2 separate regions of the Homo sapiens genome follow, and region 1 is linked to region 2. Evidence: promoter capture Hi-C in 16 types of primary human blood cells and fetal thymus (Javierre and others, 2016). All regions are on one chromosome and are shown on one strand. The core of a region is centred on a gene start or on the middle of the fragment in contact, and the rest is flanking DNA. Distances in the headings are between cores, read along the strand shown. Region 1 holds the start of SLC39A2 (solute carrier family 39 member 2). Region 2 overlaps KLHL33 (kelch like family member 33).

Region 1 (2,964 bases), core at 427-2,926, 570 kb after region 2:
TGCACATACAACCCATCCCAGGACCAACTTAAGATTAAGAAACTTCTGTCTGCAAGTACTCACTCACTATGGTGGGATCAGCTGCAAAGCGAACTGTCCCATGCTCATGTTGATGGTTTTCTAGATACTGCCAACATGTTAGCTCTTTCTGGTGCCGATGAATTTCAAACGCGAACAGACACCCTTGATGTGGGTTTGCTAAGAAAATAGAAGAACAGGAAGAAAAGTTGCCAGGTTCAGACATCCCAGGGAAAAAGAAGCGTAAACAGCATTAGCAATCAGTGACTGATGATAATGCTGCAATAATGGGAATGGTTTTATTTCTAAATCAAATCGTTTATTGCTTTGTTTCTAAAAAACAAAAAAAAAACTTCTACCTGCAGACCCCTAGTTTAGATTAATTAGGAAACATTCCCGCAGGTAGTCATAGAGCTTGAATTGTATATAAAAGCTAAAGAAAAGCTTGTAACTTTGAGTTGGTCTGGTGTGCTACTCCGACCTCCCTGTAATCAGTTGCAGAAATAAACTCCCGTCTTTCCCAGTCTGTCTGTCTGCATCTCATTACCGGACCACAAGAACAAGCAGCAGGACCAGTAACACTGTAAGAATCATCCAGTAACACTGTAAGAATACTGCTTCTACCAGAGGCCAGGACTTCCCTAGGAAAATAATCTGGAGTAGCAAGGAAAGCTGCCTCCAGAGCTCTGAGAACTGGCTCAACAGGTCTCAGGGTTGTTATGTGGGCCACCTGAATAGGGGAATCAGCAGCTGCCTGGCCTCTTGTACTAACGCCTTCCCTTCTGTCTTTCCCAGGGTCCCTCAGCTACCCTAGAGTATGTATGGGAAATGCCCCAGACATTTCCATCAAGAGTGATTCCCATCAGAACTGAATCTTCTACCCCCACCTCTCTATATCCAGGTAGAATCCTCCCATTCACTCAGTTCATTTCTGTTTTCCCCTAAGCCTTGCTGTTTCAGGGCTAGAGCAGCTTCCTTTGTCTTAAACCTTAAATGTCTTTTTTTCCACAGTTCTTACCAGGAAACAGGCACAGTTAGAAGTTGTAACAGTATAAATGTTGTAATACCAGACATCTCAACTCATTCCTCTCAAAACTGATCCCAATCAAAAGAGAAAGAAAAAAAACAAATCAACTTACCACTAGACATTTCCATGCCTGGAGCTATTTTTCTGGGGTTACAGGAAAGGGTAGTTCCCTCATGTGGGTACTAGTTCCCACAGAGTAGCACCAGCACCACCTCTCAGCCCCACCTCTTTACCTCCAGGTGGCCCCAAATCTCTGAAAGCGGGTGGTTCAAGTATCAGCATTGCAACCTATAAGACTTGGGATGAGGTGGAGAGGGTATGGAAGGCTTAGATCAAACGTCCTGAGTGAGACAGGACCAGATTGTCCCCAGTACAAAATAGCTGGGAAGCAGCTACCATAGACTTTCCTATTTTGGATTAGACCAACCCCAAGCACATGAACTAAGACTATCCGTAGCTCTTGGATTAGTCATGCCATTGAAGAGGAGGAGAAGACGCCACTGGGCTGTGCCTGGCAGGGAGTCTGGAGTTTCTGGTTTCCAAGCTCAGGAAGGCGTGAACCAGGGGAGGGGCCTCCATGCAGGGGGAGGGCTAGAAGCTGGGGCAGGATCTGTCAGCTCTGCAATGCTGCAGAAGCAGAAGCAACACAGAAAGAAGATACCAACAGCCTCCTGAAACTCACGAGAGTGGACACTCCAGTGTTGACCACCTAAGATACCACTCCTGCTCCAAAGATTACAGCTCCCTTGTCATTCTGACTCCTGGGCTTACCCTACACCCCAGAGATGGAGCAACTACTAGGAATAAAACTTGGCTGCCTGTTTGCCCTGTTGGCTCTCACTCTGGGCTGTGGCCTTACTCCCATCTGCTTCAAATGGTTCCAGATTGATGCAGCCAGAGGTATAGCCCTACCCCATCTTTGTTCCATAGCCTGAGTCTCACCTCAACCCTGTCCTGATACCTTGCTCTGATTCTCTCACCATCCCCAACCTTGGGATATTGAGTGCTGCCTGCTGCTCTTTACTCACCTTTGTCTGTCTCCTCAGTGTCAAGTGGGTTGTAACTTCTGCTTTTTATTAGGTCATCACCGGCTAGTCCTCAGACTCCTGGGCTGTATTTCTGCTGGTGTTTTCCTGGGAGCAGGGTTCATGCATATGACTGCTGAAGCCCTGGAGGAAATTGAATCACAGATTCAGAAGTTCATGGTGCAGGTGAGAGCAGAGATTTCAAGCCGCAGGTCTATGAGGCCAAAATGATAAACAGGACAAAGGGAAGAGAGCGGGAAAGTGATGGAGCCAAGGACATGGGTGGAACGACAAGGAAAATGACAGCTCTTGTGTGGGATGGTGAAAGCAAGTCAGATTAGGCTTTAAGGAAAACAGAATTGCTGAAGGGACAGCACAGGAAGCTGTGCTGCTCCATCCCACATCTAATTTCTGCTGCTTTCTTCTTAGAACAGATCAGCAAGTGAGAGAAATTCTTCTGGTGATGCTGATTCAGCTCATGTAAGTACCTCCCACCATCCCCTATCTGGAGAGTGAGGAGAACCAGAGAGGCCTTTCATATCCAGACCCTTTTGAGAGGAATACATGAGGAGTACCAAGAATCCCTTCTGCTCCCTAGCTCAGACATCGTAGAGGAAAAGAGGAGCAAATCCAATCCTTTTGAGTTTATAGAATGCCAGGGAAAGCCCTTGTTTTACTCTTTCATTCTTTCCCTGGATCCTCTGATATACCTCACATCATTTGCCCATGTTTTTAACTCTATTGAGATTCTGTCCCTTAGCCCCTCTGGCAGTCTTTTGTTGTTGTTGTTTTTCGTTTGTTTGTTGAGATGAAATCTCTCTGTCGCCCAGACTGGAGTACAGTGGCACAATCTCGGCTCACTGCAACCTCTGCCTTCCGAGTTCTAGTGATTTT
Region 2 (2,972 bases), core at 223-2,722:
ACACAGTAGGACAAGAGATTGGAAGAGGGACTCTGGGCATCCGTGGTTGGCTAGGCCAGCAATTTCTCTCCCTGCCCACCTTAGGGCCTGCCACACCCTGCCCACTCCTAGAAGCTTATACCTGAGAGTTGAAGCCAGGGTGTTGGAGTGACTGTAGAAATCTTGTCCCCCACACACATAGAGTTCACTTCCTGCCAGGCTTGCAGCCCCATGCCGGAAGCGTCCGGGGGCAGGCAGGGCAGGCAGCTGCCCCCACTCAACAGTTCGTACCAGTCCCACGCCACAGCGGAAGGCCCGGGCCCACCACACTGCTCGGGATGGTTGTCTTAGGGCCATGTCTGGTCTGAGCCCATCCCCGCCAATCACTACCAGTGCCCGGTCAGGCTCCCTCCGTCTCTCTTGGCCTGGAACATCAGCCTCTACCATCAGCTGGTGCAACAGATCTGGGGTCAGGGGTGGAAGTAGCCCGGCTGCCCGCACCCTCCGCAACTCCCTGGTGGACATGCGGCCAAAGCGGACACATCGCAGCAGGGCCTTGGCCTCTGACTCCTGGGTCTCGGGGTTGGCAGCCAGCCAACACCGTGCAGCCACAAAGGCCTCAAACTCCTCCTGCACATGGAGCTCATCACTATCCAGGAGCTCAGCCAAGCAGGCAGCTGGTAAAGAAGGGAAAGCAGGACACAAGGCTACAGCAGGCAGGTGGGTGAGGAGGTAGTGACGGGCTTTGCTCCAGAGCCTCTCCAACCCAGGGGCTTCCGCCATGGGGAACAGGGCCAGGCAACGGGCAGGGCTGAGGCCCCGTGCCAAGCCTTTCTGACACAAATCCAAGCAGGAAGAGCTCTGGTACTGCAGAGCAGCCTGGGCAGCTCTCAGTAGCCCTGGCCACCTTGCCCGCACAACTCCGGAGTAAGCAAAAGAGACGAGGAGTCGCAGGTCCTGGGTGGAGATCGTCCGCAGAGATACCTCTGTGCCCTGGGATTCCCTCATCCCGCTCAGGAGCATGGCCCCAAAGAACTCACTGCCACAGGCCAGGGCGGCTCGGTGCACTGCAGGAGGGGAGAAGGAATAGAGGAGGACTCAAAGTATTGCAAGACCGATAGGCATTACCCCAACTTGGTACTCTAAGTTTGGCCAAACTCTAAGTTTGGCCCTCCAAGCCACCCACTGCTACAGACCAAACTGTGGTGTGCATCAGAATACCATGGGGTAGTTGTTAAAATGCAGGTTTCAGCAGTCCACTCCCAGAGATTCTGATTCAGCAGTTCTGGACGGAGACCCTAGAAATTTGTATTGTAACACTTCAAGTAACCCTATGTGATTCTCATGTTAGTGGCCTGAAGACACTTAGATAAACATTGCTTTAGTCTTTTTGGTCAGATGAGTCAGAAAAAGAGTCTTCATGGATCAGGTTGAGAGGAAAGCATTTGCTAAGAGGAGCACAAAATAAATGGGAAATGACCAACAAGCAACTTATATAGGTCTGTCTATATCGTGACAAAATAAAATTCTTTACAATCAAGAGCCAAGACTGTCAGCCATTCTGTTAGATTTTGCTGGGAAAGTGGCACCACTCGGGAATGGCTGTAATCCAACCTCATCGGATTGCTGTCTCCTCTTGCCTAAGATTTAGTGTTTAATGTTTTCCGTGCGTCCCAGCTTTTCTCTGCATAACCCTCTCCTGTTCTTGGTGTAATTTGTAGAATCATGAGATCTGAAACTTGAGAACTTCAAAATAATCTAATTCAATTATTCCCTTTAAAATAAGGAAACTGGTTGGGTGTCGTGGCACACACCTGTAATCCCAGCACTTTGGGAGGCTGAGGTGGGTAGGATCACTTGAGGTCAGGAGTTCAAGGCCAGCCTGGCCAACATGGTGAAACTCCATCTCTACCAAAAATACAAACATTAGCCGGGCATGGTGGCAGGCGCCTGTAATCCCAGCTACTTGGAGACTGAGGCAGGAGAATAGCTTGAACCTGGGAGGCGAGGGTTGCAATGAGCTGAGACTGCGCCGCTGCACCCAGCCTGGGTGACAGAGCGAGACTCCATCTCAAAATAAATAAATAAATAAAATGTGGAAACTGAGTTGGGTCCCAAAGAAAGCATGTGATTTATTTTTCATTTCCATGCAGTGGCTGTGTGGGCAGATCATCTCCATCCACTGCCACTGATGTCAGGCTGCAATAAGCATGCTTGTGTACCAATACCTTGGTTATCTGCATGGTCCTCATGACAATGAAACTGTCCTATTAACCTACGCTGTTAAACAATTAGACCTCATACTCAGCATCACTTATGGATTATTCTGGCCAAAATATTTAACTTGAATCTGTTCAACTCTTTAGATCTAAAGTCAAGTTTATAGGAAGTTGAAAGGCTAAAGGAACAATTTAGAGGGGAAAAACCACACAAATCAAGAAAATGGAGCATTTTATAGGATAACCAATTTTTTTTTTTTTGAGATAGGGTCTTACTCTGTCACCCTGCCTGGAGTGCAGTGGTACAATCTCGGCTCACTGCAACCTCCACCCTCCAGCTTCATGTGATTCTCGTGCCTCAGCTTCCAGATTAGCTGGGACTACAGGTGCACGCTACCATGCCTGGCTAATTTTTGTATTTTTAGTAGAGACGGTTTCGCCATGTTGGACAGGCTAACCTTGAACTCCTGGCCTCAAGTGATCTGCCTGCCTCGGCCTCCCAAAGTGTTGGGATTACAGGCGTGAGCCACTATGCCTGGCCCAGGGTAACCAATCTTACATGTTATTGTCTTTACCAATCAATATATAAAGTAATAAAAAAAAAAAAGGAGGAAGGACTGTACTAGATTAAAGGAAGCTTAAGAGACATGCAACTGAGAATAGCATAGTCCTTGATTAATTCCTGGGTTGAACAAACTCACTTTAAAAAATGTTTTTTGGACAACTGGGAAAATATAAATGTGGACTAGGTGATATTAAAAAATTACTGGCCAG

Evidence for each region. The method cuts DNA at HindIII sites, captures the fragments that hold promoters and counts their contacts. A CHiCAGO score of 5 or more calls a contact.
Region 1: a contact is called between the fragment with the promoter of SLC39A2 here and a fragment that was not itself captured in region 2, in 1 of 17 cell types (M0 macrophages). The highest score is 5.1, in M0 macrophages.

Annotation. Positions count from the first base shown.
Region 1 is chr14:20,997,617-21,000,580 of GRCh38, forward strand. It overlaps SLC39A2 (solute carrier family 39 member 2), which reads left to right and starts at 1,677. Exons shown (of 4, transcript NM_014579.4): 1 at 1,677-1,945; 2 at 2,126-2,256; 3 at 2,500-2,550. The coding sequence starts at 1,831. LOC101929718 (a long non-coding RNA gene) reads right to left here and starts at 1,547. Exons shown (of 4, transcript NR_110139.1): 1 at 1,158-1,547; 2 at 64-198. RefSeq lists an enhancer at 1,736-2,935. The HindIII fragment of the contact is 5,548 bases long and covers 461-2,964 here.
Region 2 is chr14:20,429,674-20,432,645 of GRCh38, forward strand. It overlaps KLHL33 (kelch like family member 33), which reads right to left. Exons shown (of 5, transcript NM_001365790.2): 3 at 122-1,046. Among named protein-coding and RNA genes, the nearest start is that of KLHL33, 5.0 kb to the right of the region's middle. The HindIII fragment of the contact is 2,721 bases long and covers 113-2,833 here.